Linked DNA regions of Homo sapiens: region 2 is linked to region 1. The links are contacts of gene promoters, found by promoter capture Hi-C in human tissues and cell types (Jung and others, 2019). All regions are on one chromosome and are shown on one strand. The core of a region is centred on a gene start or on the middle of the fragment in contact, and the rest is flanking DNA. Distances in the headings are between cores, read along the strand shown.

Region 1 (3,848 bases), core at 140-2,639:
AATTTTACGTAGACTTTGTTCTTTGGTTAAAAATGTAGCGTCTCCCATCTGACTTTTTTTTTTTTTTTTGAGACGGAGTCTCGCTTTGTCGCCCAGGCTGGAGTGCAGTGGTGCGATCTCGGCTCACTGCAACCTCCGCCTCCCGGGTTCAAGCGATTCTCCCTCCTCAGCCTCCCAAGTAGCTGGGATTACAGGCATCTGCCATCACGCCTGGCTAAGTTTTTGTATTTTTAGTAAAGACGGGGTTTCACCATGTTGGCCAGGCTGGTCTCGAACTCCTGGCCTCAGGTGATCCGCCCGCCTCGGCCTCCCAAAGTGTTGGGATTACAGGCATGAGCCACCGCGCCGGCCCACCTGTTTCTGAAGGCACCTATTCCTGGGAGGGGTAACACATTAAACTATTAACTCTTCATCGGGCTTCCCAAGTGGGCGGCCCGGCCACAAGGAAGGGGACTTTGGAGTCGGGAAGGGCTGGCTCTGGAACACGGGACAAGGGTCTGAACCCCAAGGCGCAGTCCTGTGACCATGCGGGCCGGGCCGGGGAGGAGCCTGGGGTGAACCCCACCCGCCTGGTCTCCTCCCACCCCTCCCTCTCGGGTCCCGGGGCCTCTCTTTCTCTTCTCCAGGTCCTCCAGCCCAGCCACTGCTCACAGGGGTGGTTTTTGCTTTGTTAGTTGGGTTCAGGCCACGAGAAGGGGGAACCCTAAAGTTTTCCTTCCCTGCCAGGTCGCCTCTGAGAGCGCAGAAGGGAGAAACGGCATTTGTTCATTTAAACGGGCTCCTAGGACGAGAACCCGGGGACGCCAGGGCCTCGCGGGCCGGCCTGGGCCACAGGTGTCCCCGGCGCGGAGGTCGCAGCGCCCCGGCCCCTCTCACCTTTCGGGTCTGCGGCGCCCGGGGTCTCCCTTCCTCTGCGGCTGCGGCGGCTCCGGGGCTTCCCAGGGCGCGGGCCCAGGAGGCGCGGCTGCGTCCCAGGTCAGTCCCCGGGCTCCGTCCCGCGTCCGGCTTTGGCGCGGTTTTTCCCAAACTCCGTGTTCACCTGCGCGAGGGCCCGCGTCCCTGTGTGTGTCCCGGCGGGGGCCTCGGTCCGGGTCTCTTTCCCTCTCTCTCTCCCTCTCCCGGTCCCGGTTCCGGTCGCGGTTCCCGTCCCTCTCCTGGTCTCTCTCCGGGTCCCGGTCCCCGTCCCTTCGCCGGTTCCCGTCGCTGCTTCGCTTCCTGCGCGGGTCCCCGGGTCGGTCCCGCGGTCGATCGTGGGTGCGGCCTTGGTCTGGGTGGGGGCGCCGTCCCGGGTCCCGCTCTCTCGGCCGGGCCCGGGGCTCGCGAGCCCCCGACGGATCTTCCATGGCCGGGTTCCGTGTCCCCGCCCGGGAGCGACCTGAGGGCAACAACCAACAAGTTTCTTGGGCAGGTGGCCAAGCCCGGGGGCGGGGCGGGCACTCACCTGTGCGCATGCGCGCTAGTCCGGGAGCTCACCTGAGAACGGGCGCCCTCAGGGGGCGGCCTGAGCGCGTCTGGGGCCCGGGCGGGAGGGGTGCCTGTGTGCTGGGTGGGGGCTGGGGTGCTGCTGCTGGAAACCCGGGCGGGGCGACCCACAGCCGCACCTTTCTGCCCCGAAGTAACCCCTTGGTGACCCCACGAGGTGGGCGGCCTAAGGGAGCCAACTGTGGCCACCTCCCCTGGCTCAACTTACACTGCAACTTGGATTTACCTTCCCAGAGGTACCCATCCTCTCACTCACTCAGCCAGACACTCATTCATTCACCCAATCACCCACTACCCGCTCATCCATTCACCCACCCATCCACCCACTCACCCACCCATCCACCCACTCACCCACCCATCCACCATCCATCCACCCATCCACCCACTCACCCACCCGTCCAACCATCCACCCATTCAACCACTCACCCATCCATACACCCGTCTATCCACCTATCCACCTACTCACCTACCCATCTAACCATCCACCCATCCATCCATCTATCCACCCACTCACCCACCCATCCACCACCCATCTACCCGCCCACTCACCTGCCCATCCGCCCACCCACCCACCCTCCATCCATCCATCCACCCATCCACCCACTCACCCACCCATCCACCCACCCATCTACCATCCGCCCACTCACCCACTCACCTGCCCATCCATCCACCCACTCACCTAACCATCCACTCTCACCCACCCATCCACCATCCATCCACCCACCCATTCACTCATCCACCCATCCACCCACCCACTCACCCACCCATCTACCAACTCACCCATCCATCCACCCATTCATCCACCCACTCACCCATCCAGCCACCCACCCACGCATCCACCCATCCACCATTCATCCACTCACCCATTCATCCATCCATCTGGCCACTAACCTACCCACACATCCACCCAGTCACCCACCTTCCACTTCTCCCTCCACCCATCCACTGTCCCTCTTTCTCCCTTCTCCTGTTTTCCTTATAACACCTATGTTGTAAGGGGCTTGCAGCCAGTTCATCTATCACAATAGTCCTGGGCTTACAAATAGCCCTGTTTTTTAAAATGGGGACTTACACAAAATTGGCAGCTTTTAATTCTGCCAAGTAAGGATATTACAAAATATATACAATTGCCATCTGGTAATTAATTCTTTCAGCAAATATGTATGAGCACCTGCTTTAGCAGGTACTGGAGATATAGTGGAAAATTTGCTTGCAGGGTGATTGCATTCTAGTGTGTCAGGAAAAGGGAAAACAGGTAGTAAACAAAGAAGACAGTGTCTAAAGTTTAATGGGAAGGGCAGGTTTCCTCATATAGACCTGGGAAGATGTCGTTTGAATTGAGTTCTGGATGACAAGAAGGCTGAGAAAATGTCCCAGAAAGAGAGAAGGTTGAGGAACGCGGGAGCTGGACAAGGAGGTCCCTGGGAGTAGAGTTGGTGGGCATGAATTGAGGCTGGAGAAGTGGACCAGGCAGATGGTGTAGACGACAGTGTGCATTTTTATTCTAAACAATGGGAGAACATTGAAGATTTTGAGGAGGAGAGTAAACCTTTCTGATTGATATTTTTGAAAGACCACTCTGGCTTCTGTGAGGAGGGTGGATGATGGAGGCCCAGAGTAGAGGGAAGAGATGAGTTACAAAGCTGCTGCTGAAGGAGTCCAGGTGAGGGTGACGGTGGCCATGGAGACAGTGACAAGTTGACAGATCCAGGTTGTAGTTTTGGGGAAGAATTTACAGTATGGATCAGATGTGGGGAAATGAGGGGAGGGGAGGAGTGACCAGGTGAATGGTGGGGTTTTTCACTGAGACGGGGGAGACTGGACAGAACCAGATTTGCGGGGAAATTAGAGAGTTCCATTTTGGACATGGTAAATTTGAGATGGCTATAATTCATCCAAGTGTAGATGTCTAGTTGCAGTTGAATATATGAGTCTGAAATATGGGGAGAGGATTGGGCTGGAGATGCTCTGTGGGAGTAGAGAAAGGAGGAAAGTAGAATGGAGAAGAGGCCTTAGGCAGAGTCCCTAGGGAATTCTAACTTTTAGAGCTAAGACTCAAGAGGATTAAGAAGTGATGAGTGAGTAGAAGGAAAAAGAAGAGGGTGGGGGTGACAAGACATCAACCTCCAACCCACAGAAGTGCTACTGTGACCCCTGAAGCCTTTCTTCCCAGAGTGGAGAGGATGGGGCCAAATTCTAGGACCTTCCACAAATCTTTATTGAGCAAAGCCCTGTTCTGAACCCGGGACAACTATGGATGCAGAGGAAGCCTGGTAAACAAGCAGACACAGGATGGTTTGTGGAACAGCATAGCCCTTCCTCTCTTCGACCTTCGCTCTTGACTTCTGCAGACCTCTTTCAGAATA
Region 2 (4,035 bases), core at 241-2,740, 160 kb before region 1:
AATTTTTTTGTGTTTTTAGTAGAGACGGGATTTCACTGTGTTAGCCAGGGTGGTCTCGATCTGACCTCGTGATCTGCCCGCCTCGGCCTCCCAAAGTGCTGGGATTACAGGCGTGAGCCACCATTCCCAGCCCACTTTTTTTTTTTTTTTTTTTTTTTTGAGGCAGGGTTTCGCTCTTGTCACTCAGGCTGGAGTACAATGGCACAATCTTGGCTCATTGCAGCCTTCACTACCCAGGTTCAAGCGATTCTCCTGCCTCAGCCTCCTGAGTAGCTGGGCTACAGGCACCTGCCACCACACCCGGCTAATTTTTGTATTTTTGGTAGAGACAGGGTTTCACCATGTTGTCCAGACTAGTCTTGAACTCCTGACCTCAAATGATCCACCGTCTTGGCCTCCCAAAGTGCTGGAATTACAGGTGTGAGCCACCACACCCAGCCTAGTTATTGGAAGACTTTTAAATATGTTTTAAACAACTTGGGTATGTGAGTCTACTTTATAAATAGTAAATTTTATGAAATCTAAATACAGTTCAGCTATTTCTTTTTTTTTCTTTTTAGTTTAGCTATTTCTGATGAAAATGTACAAATTGAGATGTGCTGTAAGTGTAAAGTACATACTGTATATAGAAGCTTTAGTGCAAAAGCAAGTGTAAAATACCTAATTATAATTTTTGTGTTGATCATACGTTGAAATGATATTTTAGATATATTGATTAAAGAATATTATTAAAACTAATTTCACCTTTTTAAAACTTTTTACTACAGTATCTAGTATGGTGCTGATAGAAATAAAACACAAGCTACATAGAAATTTAAAAATTTCTAGTAGCTATATTTTAAAAGTCTTAAGTTTTGCAATAAAACTTAAGGGGTAGGATGGACACGGTGACTTACGCCTGTAATCCTGGCACTTTGGGAGGCCAAGGTAGGGGGATCACCTGAAGTCAGGAGTTTGAGACCATCCTGGCCAACATGGTGAAACTCTGTCTCTACTAAAAATACAAAAATTAGCCAGGCGTGATGGTGGGTGCCTGTAATCCCAGCTACTTGGGAGGCTGAGGCAGGAGAATCACTTGAACCTGGAAGGTGGAGGTTGCAGTGAGCCGAGATCATACCATTGCACTCCAGCCTGGGCGACAAAGCGAGACTCTGTCTCAAACAACAACAACAAAAAAATATCTTAGCCCTGCCTTGCTGTACAAAGGATTTGAGATGGCATAAACTACCAGCATCTACATTAAAGAGAAAAATAATAGTAGAAATTAAGAGTTGGAAAAAGGAAGCATTTAGAGCATAAGGCCAGTGTAGTTGCTGTTGGTGCGACAGCTAAGGCAAGAAAAGAGACAGTCACCTCTCAGGTAGTTGTTATTGCCAAGATGGAAGAGCAAAACTGCAGAGAACCAGATTGCCTGGATGTGACTTCTGGCTTTGAGCAAGATCTTTAACCTTTCTGTGTCTCAGTTTCCTCATCTGTAAAATGGGGACAATCTTAATGCCTACTTTATAGTGTTATTATGAAGATTAAGTTATAAGTGTTAGACACATTTTGTATATAAAAAGCCTCATGTTATGCATTTTACCATTTCCTAAAGGACGGCAATGTTTTTTGAAGCACTGAATTCTAAGAGATTTTTTATATGGACCTTTTGTCTAGGAGTCTCTTAATAATGTAAGAGACAGTATCCTCAGCATTTTTATAACAAAAGTGGTGATAGATTTCCTGTAGTGTGTGTAACCTTTTGCGTGTGTAGGTTAAGCACAACCCAGAAATATTAATGAATTATCTAAAGATAAGTAGGTAGATTGCAGGAGTAGAAAACTGGTGGCTCGGGGCCAAATTCTTCCACAGATGTGTTCTTTTTTGTCCTGTGTGGTATTTAAAATTGTTTCTGCCAGTACATAAAAAAGAAAAAAGAATTTCCATAGAAATCTGGACTTCTAGTTTCTCTTAGAAACATAGTAAGATTTGTGGAATGGAAATCTACATTTCCATATGTCAGTAGTGTGCTGCTTTTAGGCTGGGCCTGATTCTGTTTTTCCTCAGTTCTAGCCTTGCTTGCCATACCCAATTACCTGTGTAGGATATTCTTCCCTTCCATCTGTGTAGCATAGGACTGCACTTCTTTAGCTTCTCTAAATTTTACAATGTTTTCTGTACAGTCTTATACATCTTTTTAAAAAATTAAAAAAAAATTTCCTTTAAAACACAGGATTTTTAAGTCTTAACACATCTTTGGAGAAATATATTTGTAGGTTCTTTAGAGCTCTTGTTTCTGTTGCAAATAGTATCCTTTAAAATTTTAAATAATTATGTTGTAGATCTGTAGTGATATAATTGATTTTTAATAATATTTATCTACTTTGCCACATTATTGAACTTGGTTCTAAGAGTCTCTGTGGACGTCATTGTTTCCATGTAGTCAATACTACTATTGTCTGCAAACAATGGCAGTTCTTTTTTTTCCTTTGATATCCTTATACATTTTCTTATTTTCTTATTACACTGTACAGGTAGTACATTATTGCAAATAAGTGATGATAATAGCCACTCTTGTTAAAGCCGTAAACAAATGCTCTACAGTAATATGTGGGTGACTGTCATAGGGTTTAGTAGACACGCTTTCTCACATTAAGGAATTTTTTTCTTAAAATAAAGTACTTAAGCTAGTACTATTCCTTGAAAAGCCTTAGAATTAATGACCAGACCAGAAGCAATGAGCTATCCTTAAGCCTAGACTGTGGTCTCCAGATACTATTTTCAGCCCATTGGAAAGATGGCTGATCCCAAATCCAGGGTAAGGAAATGTACAAAATAAGCTTGAATGATGTTACTATGCCAGAAAGCAAGAAAGACTGCAAAGATCATGTCAGAAGGTTTCAGTAATCACCAGAAGAGGCAGTCATACCCCCAAAAGAGATAATTTGAGTATTAATAAGAATAATAATCGGCTGGGCATGGTGGCTCACACCTGTAATCCCAGCACTTTGGGAGGCCGAGGCAGGCAGATCACGAGGTCAGGAGTTCAATACCATCCTGGCCAACATGATGAAACCCTGTCTCTACTAAAAATACAAAAATTAACCAGGTGTGGTGTCAGGCGCCTATTAATCCCAGCTACTCAGGAGACTGAGGCAGGAGAATCGCTTGAACCCGGGAGGTGGAGGTTGCAGTGAGCCAAGACTGCGCCACTGCACTCCACCCTGGGCAACAGAGCGAGACTCCATCTCAAAATAATAATAAAAATAATAATAATAATAATAATAATTGTAGGCTGGGTGCGGTGACTAAACTTGTAATCTCAGTCTTTTGTGAGGCTGAGGCGGGCAGATTGCTTGAGCTCAGGAGTTCGAGACCAGCCTGACAAACATAGTGAAACCCCATCTCTACTAAAAATACAAAAATTAGCCGGGCATGGTGGCAGATACCTGTAATCCCAGGTATTCCGGAGGCTGAGGCTTGAGAATCACTTGAACCTGGGAGGCGGAGGTTGCAGTGAGGCGAGATCGTGCCACTGCACTCCATCCTGGTTGGCAGAGTGAGACTCTGTGTCAATAAAAAAAGGATAATAATTGCAATTGATTGAAATAAACGTTTATATTGCCTTTCCTTAGCAATAGTATGGCCTTCCTTCTGTATAGAGAAGTTTCTTCTTAGAGCTGTAGTCCAACTAATAAATGAAGGAATGAATTAGAATCTAATCATTTTGCAACCCATGATGATCGTCAGTTGCTGCTAATGTCACAAAAGAGAGACGACTACCAGAAATAATTATACGCCTCCTGGTGAAAGTTCATACCACTGGCTCTAAGTGGTGCATATTTGCAAAATGAGATCACAACAGAACAAAGCAAAACCTGAAAAGTCTGAATTTGATCAAGCCTCCTTAGGTATATAACCTAGATAAATTTTCCAGTATACAAAGACATGTATGTATAAGAGTATTCATTTCAGCAGTGTTTCTAATAGGTAAAACATTGCAAACAATCTGTTTGTCCTCAGATAATAGGTAAGTTTATATTCAAAAGTGGGATA

What was found. The method cuts DNA at HindIII sites, captures the fragments that hold promoters and counts their contacts. A contact is called where the count stands out against the background at its distance.
Region 2: a contact is called between a fragment that was not itself captured here and the fragment with the promoter of MARVELD3 in region 1, in 1 of the 25 tissues and cell types used here (mesendoderm cells).

The regions. Positions count from the first base shown.
Region 1 is chr16:71,623,725-71,627,572 of GRCh38, reverse strand. MARVELD3 (MARVEL domain containing 3) reads right to left here and starts at 1,389. Exons shown (of 3, transcript NM_052858.6): 1 at 877-1,389. The coding sequence starts at 1,343. RefSeq lists a silencer at 519-568. The HindIII fragment of the contact is 11,141 bases long and covers 1-3,848 here.
Region 2 is chr16:71,781,700-71,785,734 of GRCh38, reverse strand. All of the region lies in intron 2 of AP1G1 (adaptor related protein complex 1 subunit gamma 1), which reads left to right. Among named protein-coding and RNA genes, the nearest start is that of AP1G1, 25 kb to the left of the region's middle. The HindIII fragment of the contact is 4,378 bases long and covers 1-3,679 here.